Regions from separate parts of the Homo sapiens genome. Here regions 2, 3, 4, 5, 6 and 7 are each linked to region 1. The links are contacts of gene promoters, found by promoter capture Hi-C in blood cells and fetal thymus (Javierre and others, 2016). All regions are on one chromosome and are shown on one strand. The core of a region is centred on a gene start or on the middle of the fragment in contact, and the rest is flanking DNA. Distances in the headings are between cores, read along the strand shown. Region 1 holds the start of TBX3 (T-box transcription factor 3). Region 2 overlaps LOC105370003 (a long non-coding RNA gene). Region 3 overlaps LOC105370003 (a long non-coding RNA gene). Region 4 overlaps LOC105370003 (a long non-coding RNA gene). Region 5 overlaps LOC105370003 (a long non-coding RNA gene). Region 6 overlaps LOC105370003 (a long non-coding RNA gene). Region 7 overlaps LOC124903082 (a long non-coding RNA gene).

Region 1 (2,664 bases), core at 108-2,607:
TTACAAATTCACCCTCCCTCCCCGACTTCTGGCCAGATTAAGTCCCCGGGGTGGAGAAAGAACTGAGGCACCGAGAGATAAGTGCGATGCCTAGAGAAGATACCAGGCTGGCGCGCCTCCCCCAACCCAATCGCCCACCCCTTACCCTGTGCTGTGCACCCAGCCGGGCCTCGAGGTGAGGGCAGCGGCTTGGAGGGGACAGGCTCAGAACCCAGTCTCTCGCTGTGCTCGCTTTGTCCAGATCCTCCATTCTCTTCTCTACACCCACACCCACATCCAGGTGGAATATGGGGGCCCGCATGCAAATGAAAGACGAGATCCAAAAGGGCTGGTAAATGCATTTCATAAAAATCCCAAATCCATCTTCCCCAGGAGCTCAGGCAGGGCCAGCCGCGCAGGCTGTGTACGTGTTTGTGTGTACGTGTTTTTCGGTGTGTGTTTCAGTCCCAGTGTGTTGGCGCGTGTTCGAGTACAGATACACCGGGGGTGTTTGGGTACCCGCACATGGCTGCGGGTGGGGCGCAGTGGAGAGGAAGCCCACACATGCGTGTGCTGAGATATGGCCGCATCCTTGTGCTCCCCCAGCCCAGACGCAGGGGAGACCAGCACCGAGACACCCGAGCTCGGGAGCCCTTCAGCGGCGGCCGGGCGGAGCTTGGCTCCACGTGGGGCTGGAGAGCACGCAAGCCTGGAGTCTCGGCGCTCGCTTCTCGGCTGCCGCCGGCTTTTGTAGAACCGAGTGGCCGGATGGCAGCTCGCGGGGAGGCTCGGCCACCCGCCCGGCTCGCCCGGGGCGGGGAGAAGAAGGAGAGCTGGAGAGAGAACCGGCCGCGGCGGTCGGAGAGGCGAGCGGAGTGCAAGAGAGGCGAGCGCCCCTGCCCGGCGCCCGGGCGCGCTCTCCGCCTTCCCCGCCCGGCTCGCCTGCTCGCTGGCTCCCTCCCTCTCTCCCTCCCCCTTCCTCCTTGGCCCTGCCTCCTCCCTCGATCCCCGGCTGGATGACTGAGGCATTTCAGACGTGGGCTGAACCAGAGCGAGCGAGCGAGCTCAGGGGCTGCAGCGATCTCTCGATAAGCCACCTAGAGGCGACTCTGTGCGCGCGCGCTCCCCAGTGGCTCCCGCCCGCCCTCTGATCATGTTGACATATTCACAGGACAGGCAGTAGTACCGATGCGGCGCTGCGACGTTACAGTTTCCGACACCTTCTTTTTATAACTCAGCTCTATCCCCCAGCACTCGACCTGTGAAAACCACGCCTATGCAGCAACACAATTGGTCCGAAAGCGTCAAAGAGCCAATCAAGAGGCCTCCGGCTCCCCGCAGCCCACAGCGCAGCCCGACCTTCTAGAGCCGCCGAGCAGACGCCCGGTGAATTCTAGAGGCGGCGGAGGGTGGCGAGGAGCTCTCGCTTTCTCTCGCTCCCTCCCTCTCCGACTCCGTCTCTCTCTCTCTCTCTCTCTCTCCCCTCCCTCTCTTTCCCTCTGTTCCATTTTTTCCCCCTCTAAATCCTCCCTGCCCTGCGCGCCTGGACACAGATTTAGGAAGCGAATTCGCTCACGTTTTAGGACAAGGAAGAGAGAGAGGCACGGGAGAAGAGCCCAGCAAGATTTGGATTGAAACCGAGACACCCTCCGGAGGCTCGGAGCAGAGGAAGGAGGAGGAGGGCGGCGAACGGAAGCCAGTTTGCAATTCAAGTTTTGATAGCGCTGGTAGAAGGGGGTTTAAATCAGATTTTTTTTTTTTTAAAGGAGAGAGACTTTTTCCGCTCTCTCGCTCCCTGTTAAAGCCGGGTCTAGCACAGCTGCAGACGCCACCAGCGAGAAAGAGGGAGAGGAAGACAGATAGGGGGCGGGGGAAGAAGAAAAAGAAAGGTAAAAAGTCTTCTAGGAGAACCTTTCACATTTGCAACAAAAGACCTAGGGGCTGGAGAGAGATTCCTGGGACGCAGGGCTGGAGTGTCTATTTCGAGCTCAGCGGCAGGGCTCGGGCGCGAGTCGAGACCCTGCTCGCTCCTCTCGCTTCTGAAACCGACGTTCAGGAGCGGCTTTTTAAAAACGCAAGGCACAAGGACGGTCACCCGCGCGACTATGTTTGCTGATTTTTCGCCTTGCCCTCTTTAAAAGCGGCCTCCCATTCTCCAAAAGACACTTCCCCTCCTCCCTTTGAAGTGCATTAGTTGTGATTTCTGCCTCCTTTTCTTTTTTCTTTCTTTTTTGTTTTGCTTTTTCCCCCCTTTTGAATTATGTGCTGCTGTTAAACAACAACAAAAAAACAACAAAACACAGCAGCTGCGGACTTGTCCCCGGCTGGAGCCCAGCGCCCCGCCTGGAGTGGATGAGCCTCTCCATGAGAGATCCGGTCATTCCTGGGACAAGCATGGCCTACCATCCGTTCCTACCTCACCGGGCGCCGGACTTCGCCATGAGCGCGGTGCTGGGTCACCAGCCGCCGTTCTTCCCCGCGCTGACGCTGCCTCCCAACGGCGCGGCGGCGCTCTCGCTGCCGGGCGCCCTGGCCAAGCCGATCATGGATCAATTGGTGGGGGCGGCCGAGACCGGCATCCCGTTCTCCTCCCTGGGGCCCCAGGCGCATCTGAGGCCTTTGAAGACCATGGAGCCCGAAGAAGAGGTGGAGGACGACCCCAAGGTGCACCTGGAGGCTAAAGAA
Region 2 (2,664 bases), core at 74-2,573, 980 kb before region 1:
GCTAAGTACTTCGGACTTTACACCATTTTCTTTTAAAATGGTGCATGTCTGGACATGATGAATGAATTCATGGCACTTCAAGGGCAGATCTAGGCATTGACATCTATGAATTTATAATTTCTTTTTGATCAAGCCAGAGCTGGCAAGGAGTAAAGAAACCAGAGAGAGCAAGAGGGTCATTTGAAATTACTATCCTTTTCAGGTTTTATACTCCCATCTGGATTCCCCTGCTGAGAAGCAGGCTGGACACTCAGGAAACCCATGCCAGACAGCTAGCTAAGTCCTAGAAGTCAGCTCCTGATGGTATTTGGCAACCTTGGGCCTCTCTGGGCCAAGGGTTTAGTGCCAAGAGTAATTGTGATTTACACCCCTAACCTCTTTGGGTGCAAAATGGTTTTGATTAGATGCATACCATATTTATTAAGCCTTGCACAAGGCAGTCTGGGGGCTTGGCTGTTCTGCCATAAAAGAGAGGGAGATTTACACGGCTCCCTGCAGGATTCATTTAATCTCTTGGGGATTTACTGACCTTCAATTAGAACTGTTAAGTACTGTTTACATGGTCCCTAATTCATACAAGACCAATATAAGGTTGAATTTTGCTTTCATTAAGGACCTATGAATCAAGAAAATAAAAAATAATAAAAAGTCTTTGCCAAGCAAGATGTGATTTGGGTTAAGGAGAAAGAAAAGGAATATCAAAAACAAAAAGCCATTAAAAGTTGAAAGCTTTACTTTGTCATCATTTAGGAGTGGACTGATAGTAAAGAGTTGACACATGTTTAGGATGGATTTGAAATTTTAAAAATCACCTGATTTGAGATTTTTTTGGGGTGAGGATTAGCTTTATAGTTTTAAAACTCTTTCTTACAGTGACCTGGGAAACGACAGTCCCTTGAATTCTTTTCTGTTGTTGAAAATTGGGATTCCTTTGTATTCCCTAGAAGGAAGAGTACCATGTATCTCTTATCAGAGTCAATTGTGCAGACAGAAAATTGCCTTTAGCTGCGCCTTCAAACTGAGATATGTGAACTCCCAGTGGGTGTATATAGAATACCAGGAATACATAAAACCATGAAGCATCATTTATGTGTATTATTCAAGGATTTGGGGAAAAGCATACCTCTTTAAAAGCATTGAAGAAAATACAACTTAGGTCAGAAGTCATTGAAAATGCTTATAGTAGACAGGCAAGTGGAGAATAAGTATGCTGGGCTGGATTGGGGACTGCACTAAAGTGAGGAAGTCATGTTCCATCTTAAGAGGCACTCACTGCTGCACCACAGGCTCAGTAAATATTGTTGGATGAACTATTAAAAAGTGGTCACCTCTACTCCTGGCTCTGGAACTTGTTCCTGAAGGACAATGCTATGCAAATTGCTCAGAGCCACAGACTCATACTAGCAGAAGTCAGTTTAAACCCTTTGATACATTATGGGCATCACTTTCAGTGTCTGCCTTGGACACAGAATGCATAAGCTATGACAGCCTAGAGTTGTGTAAAACATATTCAACCACAGGATAGCATGATAATCACAATAGTTGCAGCCTGCAGCCAACAATGATTAGCAACCTGATTAGTGATTAGTGATTGCCTACCAGATGTGTTAAATGCCTTGTTTACATCACGTCACTGAATGTCCCCAACTGTCCTGTATGGTAGTTATTATTGTCATTGTTTGACAGATGAGGAAACTGAGGTTTAGCAAGGTGAAGTCACTTGCTCAGGTCACATAGTTTGGAAGCAGAAAGCCATGCCTCGCCCTCGATTCCACAGCCCAGAGCCTGTGTTCCTGGCCAACATGAAACATCATGAAAAGGCTGAGGTGAAAGTCTAGCGCTTCCTTTTATTAGGCAGCTTGGTTCCAACTTAGAGCAGAAGCTGGGAGTCAATTTTCATACTTTCACATAAGCTTCTACCCATTGGTGTCCCCTCCTGTGGAATGAATTATTCCCTGAAAGATGAGTTTGTGCACCCTTGATGAAGAGGGAGCCCAGTGAATCCTAACACCATTGTCAAAATCCTGATACCCAGTGGTGAGACCAACATGGGTGTTCTCAAGGACCAGAAAAATTTCAACATGGGTTGAAATTATGAGATGGAACAATACTCAGTTTGGTGACCTGGTAATGGGCTTAGCAATTTTTTTTTCTTTTTTAAATTGTGGTTTAAAAAAACCCTACATTATCTATGCTCTTAACAAATTTTGAAGTGTACAGTATAGTATGGTTAAAGGATGTACATTGTTGTGAAGCAGATCTCTAGAACTTTTTAAATTTGCATAACCAGAACTCTACCTTTTGAACAATAACTCCTCATTTCTCCCTCATCTCAGCCCCTAGCATTCCCCATTTGACTTTCTGCTTCTATGAGGTGGACTATTTTATATACTGCCTATAAGTGAAATAATGAAACATTTGTCCTTCTGTGCCTGGCTTATTTCACTCAGCATAATGTCCTCAAGCTTCATCCATGTTGTAGCATATGGCAGGATTTCTTTCTTTTTAAAGGTTGAATGATATTTCATTGTATGTATATACCACACTTTATCAAATTATTCATTAATGTTTCCACCTCTGTGCTACTGTGAGTAATAATGCAGTGAACATGGGTGTGAAAATATTTCTTTGAGATCCTGTTTTCAATCCTTTTGGATAAATATT
Region 3 (2,664 bases), core at 46-2,545, 970 kb before region 1:
ACACATACATATATATATACATACACATATATACACATATATATAATACATATATATAAAATACATATATATGTATATATTTTTTGAGACAGAGTCTTGCTCTGTCACCTAGGCTGGAGTGCAGTGGTGTGATCTGGGCTCACTGCAGCCTGTGCCTCCTGAGTTCAAGCGGTTCTCTTGCCTCAGCCTCCTGAGCAGCTGGGATTACAGGCACCTGTCACCATGCCCAACTAATTTTTGTACTTTCTGTAGAGACACGGTTTCACCATGTTGGCCAGGCTGGTCTCGAACTCCTAACCTCAGGTGATCCACCCAGCTAGGCCTCCCAAAGTGCTGGGATTATAGGCATGAGCCACCATGGCGCCCAGCCCCATTAGATTTTGATGTGAAGTTAGGCTGGGAAATCACCAGATGAGAGGGTTTTCCTAAAGCCCATTCTGGCTTGGGAATTCTAACATTCCATAGTGATTTTTCCTCCATTGATCCTAGTCTAACTAAACACAGGTCTATTTATTGATCCATCACAGGGTCATCCCTCGCCTTTATCCCCAGGTACCATTCAGCCCCAGGTAAACTGTGCCCGAGGGCCAGCCACATGTGCTGGGTACCTGGAAAAACTGCCTGTAGCGCCAGCCTCCCACCTCCTCCTGGGTGCATGTGTATTAAATCGTGGTATAGTGGCTAATTCTTTGCAGCTTGCAGGTTGCTGCCTCCATTTCAGCAGACACGAGGGCGCCCTGACACAGTTAAAGATCACAAGCTTTGATAACCTGCCCTTCTGATTTATAACAGTCGGGGTCTCCACATTCACCTAATGAGGGGAACTCGGAGTGTCAACCTGTTTATTAAATGCTCAGAACCATGTGTGAGCCGGAATGAGGTAAGAAGTCAATCATATTTTCATTTATTCTGCGTGTCCCCTGCCTGTTCATTCAGGCCTCTCTCCCCGAGACTGTCAGTCTGCCAAACTATTTCTTTTCATCTCCAAAGGGGAGGACTTTAGGATAGATCATTTGCAGAGACGGTCGGGGTCCACAATGTTTGCACTTCCCTACTGATTTCATAGGTGTTTGGAAGTTAATGATACTCAACACCTCATGATTCTTTCCTATATGTCAAACAAAGACATGAAAGGGAAAGTGGCCAGAGGGGAGAGGTAGGTAGGGGGTGCAGGGTGGGGAAGACAGAAACGTATCCATAGCTTTCCCTTTCCTTCACCCTAGGCCTGGAGAGATTGGAGAGATTGTGAGTCTTAATGCAAATGGAAGATGGATTAATCTTCCTGAAGTTGTCGGCATCTAATGAAGTCTTAATTCATCTTCTTTAATTCCCTTTAAAATAAAAAAAAGCATAAATCAAAATAACAAATGGCCCGGCTGCTTTAATCTCCACTTGTTCTCACCCCCTTCCCCTTTGCAACTTGGTCACTGTCATTTTCTTAATCTCTGGAGATTCCGCCCTGATTCCTTTCAAGTGGCATCAGCTCTGTCTCTTAGGTTTGGTATTCTGGAGTTGGCATAAATATTTCTGCCTGTTTGAGGCCCCTGGCTGGATTCTGACCTTGGACATGACTGGGGGAGGGGGCAGAGCAGGCCACACTCTGAAGTTTACTTGGTAAGATGAGCTCTAGGTGGCCCAGTCTGAAGACCTGGGAAGAGTTCTGCAACCTCACATCTGTGACTAAAGCAGGCTTTACTGGAACTGCTGGTCTATATTGTTCTATTCTTGGATTCTTGGTGCTTTCTTGTGATACATGATGGTACATGTAATGATACTTATTCATTAAGTGATACATTGTTTCATTTAAAATAACCTCAGGAGTAAGCTTGTGAAGAATTCAAACTTCATATTCTTTTTTCTTTCACTGAAATTGCCTTTTTTTTTTTTTACTTCTAAAGCATACATACACACATTTTCTTGAGATTAGAAACTCTTTTTAAAATTTTAAAAATTTTTTACTTCTAAAGTATACATACACACATTTTCTTGAGATTAGAAACTCTGTTTTGTCCTTTGAGGGTATATTTATATAAGAAACAAAGCAGTAAAGGCCTGCATGGTAAAGCAAGGGCATTTGCGCTAGAGGACCAACATTCAGGCTCCAATAACGTCATCCATTAACAGTTTATACACCAACCCCATTATCACTGGATTCTCATTACATCTGTGTGGATCAAGCAGGACAACTCATTTCTTGCTTCATATTCTTTTTCAGTTCTTGTATCTTGTATCTTGCCCTGTGCCCAGCTTAAAACAGATGCTACATAAATATTTGTTGAATGAGTGAACAAATGGATGGATGAATAAACAGAGTTGCCTGATTGTGCATTGTGCAATCTTTAACTTAAATTTGGTCTCTGTTTGTTTTTGTGTAATGGTTATAGAGATATCCTGGCTTGGGGCAACGTGGAATAGCTGAACACCTGTGGTAGATTGGTGTTAATGTGGCCCTGCCTGTTTTCTCTGTCTGTCTTAGTAACAGAACCTCCATCTTTAGCTGGACAATAGATAGCTGGAATGAAGACATTTCCCAGACTTCCTTCCAGCAAAGTGTGGCCATGTTCTGCCCACTGAAATTTAAGTGGTGGTGTTGTATGGTTAATGTCCTTAAAAAGACAGCTGGAACAAACCCCTTGCTTCTTCTCTTGCTGCTCCATATGGTTG
Region 4 (2,664 bases), core at 74-2,573, 940 kb before region 1:
TGCCTGCCTCGGCCTCCCAAAGTGCTGGCATTACAGGCATGAGCCACCACGCCCAGCTGTCTTGTACATTTTCAATAATAAACTCTAAGAGGTTTTCTAACTTAAAAAATAAAGTTTTTTGAAAGAAAGTTGAATAGCATCATTTCAAAAAGTGATCTCAGGTGAATTAGGGCCAAACTAGCTCTATCAAGCTTAGAAATCTGATTGTAATAAACAGTGAAGGCCAAAGGATTTGCATTGTACAAGCTTCCCACCCTACCTATTAATGCCATGTTTATTCTTCCTGCTTGTTGATATCTGTATCTCCAGAGGCTTAAATGAAGTTGATAGTCAAAGTAATTTATGTAGTTTGCTCAGTCAGACACATCAACTCTGGGGAGAAAGAAAAGACACATTATGCTTGTCTGATTGTAAATAACTCAGGTTGGGGGTTTCCATGGATATAGTTTATCCCATGGCCATTCCTATCTTCTTCCTTAGGCCACTGCAGGCTTCAAGGAGACCCTGAGGTAGTAAATGGTGGCTAAAACCAATACTGCTGTTTACCCTTTTAAGTATTTTGAGTTCCTAACAGCTTCCCTTAGAGAGTTCCTAACTCCTTAGAGAGGAGATAGGGGTGGTGTGGAGTAAAGGTCAACAAACTTTTTCTGTGAAGGACCAGATAGTAAATATTTTAGGCTTTGCAGGTCATAAGATCTTTGTCACAACTACTTAGCTTTGTGATTGTAGTGTGAAGGCAGCCATAGATGATACGTAAGTAAATGGACATGGCTGAGTGCCAATCAAATTTTATCTATGGACACCCAAATTTGAATTTCCTATAATTTTTACATATCACCAAATACTCTTCTTCTTTTGAACTCCTCCCACCATTTAAAAATGTAAAACCAATCTTAGATTGTGGACATATGAAAGTAAGTGGTGGACTGGACTTGGCCTCTCAGGCTGGAGTTTACTGACCTCTGGTGTAAGAAATGGAATGGAGATTTATACTACTGAACTTACTATTATTTTTAATGATGTGGAAATAGTGCTTTTTTTAGTTAAAATAAATGAGTATATACTTTTATAACACAGGGTACCAGATGTCATGAAAATGTATATTTTTCTGATGCACAATATGTAATTTTTAAACTGGCTCAGATATTGTGTCAGATCAATTGATAACTGCAATATATAAAACATATGAAACTAATTCCAGGAAATACCTTATATTTATGTCCTTGGGTCTGAATTTCTGAGCTCTCTGTGTTTAGGGATGGAATTTGGTTTATTCAAAGAGTAGCAGGTTATATATCTTGATGGTTACATTAGCTCAATATTTTGTTTCCTTTCTGGAGCAGGTAAGCCTTACAGACTGTTTTAGTTTGCAGCAATTAAATTTGCTTATCGCTGTGAAACAGAATTTCATTTGAAGCCAGTTATTAATGTCTAAAATGCACTTCCAGGAAATAATTTTGAACGTTTTATTTATTAAAAAGAACTCAATGTTTGTTCAAAGGCATTGATGTAATTTACAAAGTTCGATATTAGATATTTTATGAGGCAATATAAAAATGCCATTTTGCAAGGCCCCATTTTTTTAATTGTACTGTGGCACATTCAATGTCAGTATAAGGTGCTATTTTGTATTCTGCTTTTATGGCACTACTTAGTAAGTTTATTAAGAGAATTAGCAAACAAAAAACCTTCCACTCTTCCCAGCCCTGGATTCTTCTCATTTGCTGGTTTATTTTTAATGAAACATCTTCAAAAGGTACATAAAAGAAGCCTCTTTACTTATACAGCTTTAGTGCCTCACCTTTATGGAAAAAGAAGAAATTTGGGAATTTGATTTCATCTGGAAAATCTGGGACACATGATACTGTATCAGATCTTGCTATACCTCACCAATATTCTCTTTGCACTTGTCAAGTACATGCCTATGGTGCCAATGCAAACACCTGAGACTCTCCATCTGAGGGCTTTCTCTTGGACTCAGTGAAGGGCAGGGTAGAAATGCTGGGGAATCAACACCCCAGGAGCAGTCCTTTATCAACAGTGGATGGGTGTTAGAGAATAAATACTTGTCTTCTTCCCCACTCAGGGAACGTAACTTTAAAGCATGTTCTATGCAGCCTTTCAGAGTTCTCCAAAGGATTCAGTTTCCAGTTGGCCACTGTGGGAACCTGCTCCACAATGCAGTGTATCGGTTATCTACTTTTGCATAACATGTCATCCCAAAACTTAGTGACTTAAAGCAACAAATACCTACTATTTTACAGTGGGGTAGGGTTTCAGATAAGGAGTAGTTGGGTGGATCTGGCAGGTTCTCTCATGAAGTTGCAGTCAAGATGTCGGCCAGGACTGTGATCTCATCTGAAGGCTTGACTGAGGCTGAAGCATCTGTTTCCAAGCTTACTCCCATGGCTGTTGGCAGGAGACCTCAGTTGCTCACTACATGGGCCTCTCCACAGGGCTGTTTGAGTGTCTTCTGACATGGTTTCTGGTTTCCTAGAATATGACAATGGCTGTCTACAGAAACTAACGATTTGTTCTTCTTCTCACTCTGGGACAATTTTGTCCTCTCTATTACTCAGGATAGACTAGTTGCTAAAACCACCACCACAACAAAAATCTTCAAAATGTCCATGGCTTAACTCAAAACAAGTTTGTTGCTTGCTT
Region 5 (2,664 bases), core at 108-2,607, 760 kb before region 1:
CACACTTTCTGTGCTCTGTGGACTTCCCTTCAGGCCCCCAAGTGATGTCTGGGAGTCTCACCTTAATCCACCAAATAGTCCTGAGTGGGAATTTAAGCCTTGTTTGGTTCTTGAGCCCCGTGCTGCAGATCTGTAGATAACATGGGAGCACAGCTGCCCTTGGGGCCTGAGGTTGATAGAGATCAGGCAGAAGGTTGTTTGGGAAGACACAAGGTAGGGCCATAAACCATCTTGGCAAGACTCCCATGCCAGTTACTGGTTGGATTCTTCCTTATCCTCCATCTGCCAGGGTTCCTCTTTGTTGGGGGCTGTAATTACAGGTAGCAGGGTTGCTAAGAGGCTTTTAATCCCTAGATTTACTGGTTGATTTTATGCTCCTAGGTGCTTTTGCTCTTTTATTCTCCAGCAAATTGGCTAGCTGCACGAGAAGTTCAAACCCTTGGTGTATTCTGCCTCCTGGGAGGTTAGTGATGCTTTGTGAAGGCTGCCAGCCTCCAAGCAGACAATTGAATTGCCCCAGAGCTGAGTTTTCATCAGTTTTCCAAGCTCATGACTCAAAGGGCCTTGACCAAGGGCATGGAGAGGAAAAAGGAACAGGGCGGACCATGAGCAGAGGTTTAAATCTCACCTCCACCTTTGGAAATTGTCTGGCCCTGGGCAAGGACAAAGCCTCTTTAGACTTCAGTTTTCTTCTCTGTAAAACGACCGAAAAAGGTGGTTGAGAGGATTGAATTAAATGCCATATGTTGCCAGCTCTATTGTAGGTACTCAGTAAAAGTGAGTCTTTTCCCCTGTGGCATCTTCTGTTCTGAAACCTTATGTGGTTCCCTTCTACTGACCTGATCAGACCTAAGAAGGAAATGAACCAGTGGAGAATGGGGAGAACAGTGTTTCAGACAGAGTGGACAGTCAGCACAAAGGCCCACGGAGAGTGCGGGGTGTTCGGGCAGCACCTGGAAGGCTGGGATGACCAGGAAGGGAGACAGGGGTGGGAATTTTGGGGTGGGCAAATCAGCAGGGGCTGCATAAAGAGTTTGGATCTGATGAAAAAAAAAGGAGATGCTCTAAGCAGGAGAGCAATTTGATCTTGCAACAGCTTAAGATGATTGCTGTCTGCTGCAACGTGAATGCTGGTGCACCCTTTTTTGTAAGGGCTTGGTGGATAGCTTTGTCCAAGTGACCTTCCTCGGTGCCTGAGGTTTCAGAAGCATCGTAGATCTGAAAGGGTTGGGGAAAAGCCTGTTCTCTTTCCAAGACCAAGTTGAGAGCCTGGGATTCTTGGCTGGTGCTGCATAAAAGCTCTGTGATTCTGCAGGAAAGAAAGGCAATGGGCACAGGTGGTGGTATCTTGCCCATGCTCTTCCTGCTGGTTGCAATTGTCTCCATGACTTCAGCCCAAGGAGAACGAAGCACACAGTGTGGACAGTCACTAAAAACCATGCTGTGTTCCCTGAGGGCTTTGGAGTCAGATCGATCTCACCTTAAATTGTGGCCCTGCCACTTTCTAGTGTCAGATCTTTTTGAGTCTTGATTTTTTAATTTGTAAAATGTGAACAACAGTAGCCTTGACTTCATAGCATGGGTCTGAACATTGAGAGAAGTATTGCATGTCATATAGTCATTCAAATACCTGGTATGCACTGCTGTTGTTTTTATTAGCTGCAAGGCTACTGCCACAAGTTTTTCCTTTTGATAAATTTGAAAAATAAAGGACAAATATAATGATAGTTCCTGTATTAATCAGGAACTCTAGAGGGACAGAACTAATAGGATATCTACATATGTGTGTGTATGTGTATATATATATATATATATATATATATAGAGAGAGAGAGAGAGAGAGAGAGAGAGAGAGAGAGAGAGAGAGAGAGAGACAGAGAGGACAGAACTGACTAGTCAGTTCTCTAGAGGGACAGAACTAACTAGATATATACTAGTTAGAGGGACAGAACTAACTAGATATATATATATCCTATTAGTTACATATATATAGGAATTTATTAAGTATTAACTCACATGATCACAGGATCCCAAAATAGGTCATCTGCAATCTGAGGAGGAAGGAGAGCCAGTCTGAGTCCCAAAACTGAAGAACTTGGAGTCCGATGTTTGAGGGCAGGAAGCATCCAGCACGGGAGAAAGATGTAAGCTGGGAGGCTAGGCCCGTCTCGTCTTTTCACGTTTTTCTGCCTGTTTTATATTCTAGCCATGCTGGCAGCTGATTAGATGGTGCCCACCCAGATTAAGGGTGGGTCTGCCTTTCCCTGCCCACTGTCTCAAATATGAATCTCCCTTGGCAGCACCCTCACAGACCACGCCCAGGATCAATACTTTTGCATCCTTCAATCCAATCAAGTTGACATGCAGTATTAACCATCACAGTTCCCAACAATTCCAATGTCCAGAATTTTAAGAAGTGTTAATACTTATAGTTTTACATGTTGATTTGTGAAGTCTCATGGGCTTTGAATGTGAGCCCAGTGACAAGGAATAAGCTCAGATTTTATTCTTAGATGGACAGCTTCCTAGCTGTTGTGAATCTGGGCAATTCATGTCACCCCTCTAAGCCTATTTCTTCATCTTTAAGAAGGCAATACCTCCTTCGGAACAGTGATAATTGATATTTATAAGGAATGTCATGGAAATTACATTTCAAATAGTTTA
Region 6 (2,664 bases), core at 54-2,553, 720 kb before region 1:
TTATATACACATACACACACACACACACACACACACACACACACACACACACACATATATTTCCTTTAAATTTGATTTTTGGGGACTGTCTTTTGTTTTTGTTTAAGAAATCATTCCCTGCCTGAATAAAAATTAAAAAAAAAAACTCTCCTATAGTGTTTTCTAGAAGCTTTATTGTTTTTACTTCCATATTTAGATATACAATATATCATTTTGTTCTTTGATTTTTCTCGCATCATACAGCCTTCTTTTCTGTTCCTGGGATACCCCTAAATCCCATGTCAGAAAAGACGTGCAGCTTTATGACTTAGCAAAAGTGATAGCAACAACACAATCATAATAACCGAGATGCGTGCAAGACCTTGTGACACACATTTCCATCCATTAACTGATTTAATTCTTTCATATCAGCCCTTGGAAACTGTTGAAGTGAGCATCATAATGCCCATTTTAAAGATGGAAAGAGTGAGCCTTAGAGAAAAGTAACTTGCCCAAGTTCACATAGCTGATAAATAGCAGAACAAGGAGATTCAAATATAGATCTGCCTGGTTTCAAAATATATTCTCCTTTTATCGCCTGGTGTTGATTAAGATGACTTGAGGTTACTAAGTCCCTGTTACTCACAGTTTTGTGTAAGATTTTCCAAGAATCTCACAGGAATTTTGTGTGCAGCCAAAAAATTCCTGGTATTTCCCATGATGTCATTGGACTGAGATATAGAATAGGTTTCTTTTCATGTAATCTGCAGAGCAGAGGTGCACCAGAGAGTTGGGTCATCAGAGGGTTAACATTTTGACTTGCCTAGGGAAATAAGAGTTTCTTTACCTCTGGTCCTCCCTCATCCTCTGGGAAGCCTCGGATGCTGTTTTACAGCCTGGCTGATCTTACGGTAAATGATACAAGCAGCAGCTTTTAAAAATCCGAGTTGCTGCTTCGAGTATTAGAAATGCCTCTAGAGTTTGGTAGTTAAAGCCAAAGCAGATGGATAAACACTAGTAGCTGCCGAAGGTGGTGCATGATGTCAATGGAGAACAGGCAAGGCAGGTCTTTCGTAGGGGACAGCCGTTGTTTGACCTGGCAGCGCCCTCACTTCTTCAGGGACTGGTGATCCTTTGATAAATTGCTCCTGCCTCCTCTCTAAACATATGGTTTGAATAGAGGCTGTCCATGCTAGCTCCCCACCCTCTTGGGCTGGGTGATGGGTACAGCATTGGACACACCATCCAACAGAGCCAATGAGGTGCCTTCCCTGGGATTTTTCCAACCAAAGCAGGAAAGAAAGTCTGTTCCTATTTTGATACATCTCTGAGGAACACTTCCCAGGCAATAAATATCTATGAAATGAATGAATGAATCCCCATTGCCAAGTGAACTCTCAGAGGGTATCTCTGTTCATAGTGAGAATTTATCATGCTTTTGGATAAGTACGTGAATAAATTAGGAGAGCATGCGTGTGTTCATAAACGGGGATGTAAGAGAGTAAGTGAATAAATAAACAAGTGAATATATACTCTGCAATTCTGATTGTTTATATTTCTCATACTGATAGACATTTGCATTCCAAAGAGATCCACTTTGTTCCAGTTATCTTTGCTGTGTAACAAAGTGTCCAAAAACTTAATGGTATAAACAACCATTTCATTAGGTAACAGATTCTGTGACTCAGAAGTTTTGATAGAAGGTGCAGACAGGTGTTCTCTGCTCCAAGATGTCTAAGGTCTAATCTGGACATAATTCAATGGCTGGGATATGTAGGTGCTAAGCGAAGGGATTTCTAGGTGATCCCAGCTCCCAGGACCTGTTAAATCCTAAACCAGACCATGGCACTCCTCTGTTCAAAACGAACAGCTCACTCCAACCTCGTGACCTTTGCACTACAGCCCCCTCTGCTTGGAATTCTCTGCTACAGAAATCTGCAAGGCAGATTTACTTACAGGAACTGGGATCACTTAAAAATGCCATCGCTTAGCACTTACATATGGCCTCTCCATGTGGCCTGGGCTTCCTCTTAGTGTGGCAGCCTCAGGGTTAGTTGGAACTCTTACATGGTGTTTTGAGGTTCTAGCATAAGTGTCTTAGTGGACAGGGCAGAAGCGGTATTGCTTTTTATGAAGTTGCACAATATAACTTTTGCCATACTCTATTAGACTCTACTGGTCAAAACCTTAGAAGTTACACAATATAATTTCTGCCATACTCTATTAGACTCTACTGGTCGAAACAGTCACAGCCCACCCAGGTCTAAAGGATGGGAACACAAACCCCAACCGCTGGATGGGAGGGTGCAAGGTCATATTGTAGAAGAGCATATAGAATGGAAAATATTGTTGTGTTCGGAAAACAATCAGCCACATGATTTAAATCAAATCAATTGGTCTCTGGGGGAGTTTTTAGTTTTAGGAAGATATTTCTCAGGACTCCTGAAGTCAAAGCTTTAAGATGACCTCTTAGAGGATCTGTATATACCCTAGCACTGTCTAGAGCAAAGTATTCCACCAGGATTCACCAATGGAAATAAGACATAGTGGGTCGAAAATGGCCCCCAACTATGTCCACATCCTAATCCCCGAAACCTGTGACTGTGTTATCTTACATGACAAAAGAGCCTTTGTGTGTGTGATGAAGATAAGAACCTTGAGATAGGAAGAGGATAAGAGAGAAGC
Region 7 (2,664 bases), core at 67-2,566, 660 kb before region 1:
TTAATTTCTCTTAACTGTGGGCTCCTTGAGGGAAGATACCCCATCGGATTTCTTTGTGCACCCTCAGAACCTCCCTAACACAAGGTACAGATCTCGGAAGGTATAAGTGAATGGATAAATGAATGTAAGAGGGAGTGATTTGCAAAATCATTGCCAGCTTTGCTATTTTTCTTTTCTCTTAGACACGATCAGTAATAGAAGACTACTACATTTTATTCGTCTAAGGAAGGGATGTTCTTAAACTTAGGTTTCCTCTACCTTCTTTCCTCAGAAAGAAAAAACAATAAAGATTCCTATGAGGAAATTATAATAAAGAGGAGGCCATACACAGTGTTACATAACTCAAATTGCAAACTGTGATTGGTTTTGGTAGGGAGGCGGGATTTGGGGGATGAGGAAGAGACTTCCTGCCAACAAGCTCCTCACATTTCAGTGCCCTAGGTAATCATCCACTGGAAATCCTCTTAAAGCCCACGTTCATGCATTCCACATTTAAAATGCATAAAACTTTTGATGATTCAAAAAGGCTCTGCGAGGTTGATGTGGTGGTCAGGGCCATGTGAATCCTAGGTCATGTGAATCCTCATACCCCATAATATGTCTCGAGGGATTTCTCAAATCCCATGTTTACGAAAGTGAGCCTTATGCCCTTCTGTACACTTATACATGTTTAAAGGATCGTCTTGAAGTGTGAAGAAACAAAGGTGTGGGAGTCAGAGCCCATTTCATTGTCTATGGAGCCAGGATCCCAGCAGAAAAAAAAAAAATTCGTTCAGCTGTTTAACTGAGAGACATTTCCATAAGGGCTATTTACAGAATTGTGAGCTGAGTTAGGAGAACCAGAAATGGATGATGAAGCACCATCAGGGACTTCTAACAGCAGGAAGTTGTCACCAACCCTGGAACACAAGGGGCAGTGGGAGGAAAAGGACCCTTGGAGTCCAGTGAAAGCTGGAGCCATGGAGGTGAGGTCACCCAGTGAGTGATGTAGACATGGGGAGCCACAAACCCTTTCAGATATATAATACAGAAGCAGAGAGGGAGTAGAGGCATTGATACCCAAGCTCTCTCTCTTGCCACCCTCAGTCTTCTGCTGGTGTTTATCATTGGTCAAACCCAACTGAAAGCCGGGGTAAGGGAACATGAGTTTCATAGTCTGTGTGCATCACAAAGAGGGCAGAGCAAGGTAGAGAATTAACCTTCGAGATGGAATTGGAGTTAGAATAACCAGCATCCTTGATTCAAGGTGGTAAAAGGGAAGACAATGCTACCTGCCTATTTGTTAAGGAGACTGAGTTGACAGGAACAAAGTTTATCGGGTGATATTCCCATGCAGAATCAACATAGAAGCTCCTCATTCTTTGGCAAGAAATGTTCCCTCCAATTGTATATATTTGACATTGGTCGGAGTGATGGATGGAGAGAAAAAAATAAAGGATACTAGGTCCTTGGTGTGTTGTTTCACGTGAAGACCACAAAGATTTTCTAGCGGAGAGATGTATTCTTATGGTAACCAGTTTCTAATAGTCCTATCCTTGTGTAGTTCCCTCCCACATTATACCAGGGTTGGTCTCACCAATGGCATACAGCGGAAGTGATGGTGTTTCACCTCTGAGATTAGATAACAAAAGAAATTGCAGGTATATTATCTCTCCCCCATCCCCCCCTTTCCTGCTCTCCTTTTTTCTTCCTCCCTTCTCCCTCCTCCCTGCTCTCTTCTCTCCTCTCTGTCTTTCAACTGATCATGGTGGGGGGCGGGGTGGGGGGCAGGTGGGGGGAGCTATTTTGGGAGCAGCCCTGAAGAGAGACCTACATAGTGAGAATCTGAGACTTCCTGCCAACAGCCACATGAATAAGCATTGAAATGAATTTCCCCCAGTCAAGCCTTCAAATGAGACGACAGCCCATCTGACTACTTGACTGCCATGTCATGAGAGACTCTGAAGCAGAACCATGCAGTTAAGCTGCTTCCAGATTCTTGACGTTCAGAAACTGCGAGCTAACTTTGAGGTTAAATGCATTTGCTCCTTTTCAGTAATGATTTGTAACATGCATTTATTTTGTGCTTATTTTAATCTTTCACAAAGCCTGGGATTCACACTCTCTTAACTGTGTAACAAAGTCCTTGTCTAGCCTCTGAGACTCAGTTTCTTCAATTTTCAGTGAAGATCACAATAATCCTATCAAAAGGGTTGTCCTGAGGATCAAATTGTTGTCCAAAATACTTATAGTATTCTAATTCCCTTAGGACAGTGCCTAAAACAGAGTAACTACTTAACAAACTTAGTTGTTATCATTAAAGAGGGAGAAAAATGGGTTTCAAATACTATTTATAATTAAGATCATGGCACCAATGAAACCTGAGATTACAGTTCACCATTATTGCATGGTCTATTTCAGCTCTGTTATTTCTCTTGCCTCGAAGACAGTTCTGTTCTCTCACAATTGCTGCAATGCACAGTTTCCCAAAACAACATGCAGTTCTGCCAACCTCAGAGGCCTGGAGCTTTGAAACATCCCCCTCCTGACCATGGAGAATTGGCTGTCTCCACTCGCGCCTCCTTGGCAGAAGGGGAATCCCTGATTTTCTGGACATGCTTTGTCACTCCCTGGGTGTGAGCCAGATCTTGCTCATGATTTCCATTCTCTAATGACTCGGGGATG

What was found. Contacts are between HindIII fragments. The CHiCAGO score rates a contact against its expected background, and 5 or more counts as called.
Region 2: a contact is called between a fragment that was not itself captured here and the fragment with the promoter of TBX3 in region 1, in 1 of 17 cell types (endothelial precursors). The highest score is 7.1, in endothelial precursors.
Region 3: a contact is called between a fragment that was not itself captured here and the fragment with the promoter of TBX3 in region 1, in 1 of 17 cell types (endothelial precursors). The highest score is 6.6, in endothelial precursors.
Region 4: a contact is called between a fragment that was not itself captured here and the fragment with the promoter of TBX3 in region 1, in 1 of 17 cell types (endothelial precursors). The highest score is 6.1, in endothelial precursors.
Region 5: a fragment that was not itself captured here is called in contact with the fragment with the promoter of TBX3 in region 1 in 1 of 17 cell types (endothelial precursors); the score reaches 6.3 in endothelial precursors.
Region 6: a contact is called between a fragment that was not itself captured here and the fragment with the promoter of TBX3 in region 1, in 1 of 17 cell types (endothelial precursors). The highest score is 6.1, in endothelial precursors.
Region 7: a fragment that was not itself captured here is called in contact with the fragment with the promoter of TBX3 in region 1 in 1 of 17 cell types (endothelial precursors); the score reaches 7.1 in endothelial precursors.

The regions. Positions count from the first base shown.
Region 1 is chr12:114,682,868-114,685,531 of GRCh38, reverse strand. It overlaps TBX3 (T-box transcription factor 3), which reads left to right and starts at 1,357. Exons shown (of 7, transcript NM_005996.4): 1 at 1,357-2,664. The coding sequence starts at 2,332. All of the region lies in intron 1 of TBX3-AS1 (TBX3 antisense RNA 1), which reads right to left. RefSeq lists a promoter at 846-1,355. The HindIII fragment of the contact is 4,535 bases long and covers 1-2,664 here.
Region 2 is chr12:115,664,974-115,667,637 of GRCh38, reverse strand. The region is part of intron 1 of LOC105370003 (a long non-coding RNA gene); the gene reads left to right. Among named protein-coding and RNA genes, the nearest start is that of LINC02463, 220 kb to the left of the region's middle. The HindIII fragment of the contact is 1,184 bases long and covers 732-1,915 here.
Region 3 is chr12:115,648,334-115,650,997 of GRCh38, reverse strand. All of the region lies in intron 1 of LOC105370003 (a long non-coding RNA gene), which reads left to right. Among named protein-coding and RNA genes, the nearest start is that of LINC02463, 240 kb to the left of the region's middle. The HindIII fragment of the contact is 1,065 bases long and covers 763-1,827 here.
Region 4 is chr12:115,625,103-115,627,766 of GRCh38, reverse strand. All of the region lies in intron 1 of LOC105370003 (a long non-coding RNA gene), which reads left to right. All of the region lies in intron 2 of LOC105370002 (a long non-coding RNA gene), which reads left to right. Among named protein-coding and RNA genes, the nearest start is that of LINC02463, 260 kb to the left of the region's middle. The HindIII fragment of the contact is 2,150 bases long and covers 249-2,398 here.
Region 5 is chr12:115,440,981-115,443,644 of GRCh38, reverse strand. All of the region lies in intron 2 of LOC105370003 (a long non-coding RNA gene), which reads left to right. Among named protein-coding and RNA genes, the nearest start is that of LINC02463, 440 kb to the left of the region's middle. The HindIII fragment of the contact is 3,747 bases long and covers 1-2,664 here.
Region 6 is chr12:115,403,376-115,406,039 of GRCh38, reverse strand. All of the region lies in intron 3 of LOC105370003 (a long non-coding RNA gene), which reads left to right. Among named protein-coding and RNA genes, the nearest start is that of LINC02463, 480 kb to the left of the region's middle. The HindIII fragment of the contact is 2,264 bases long and covers 172-2,435 here.
Region 7 is chr12:115,341,586-115,344,249 of GRCh38, reverse strand. The region is part of intron 2 of LOC124903082 (a long non-coding RNA gene); the gene reads left to right. Among named protein-coding and RNA genes, the nearest start is that of LINC02463, 540 kb to the left of the region's middle. RefSeq lists an enhancer at 2,182-2,664. The HindIII fragment of the contact is 3,543 bases long and covers 1-2,664 here.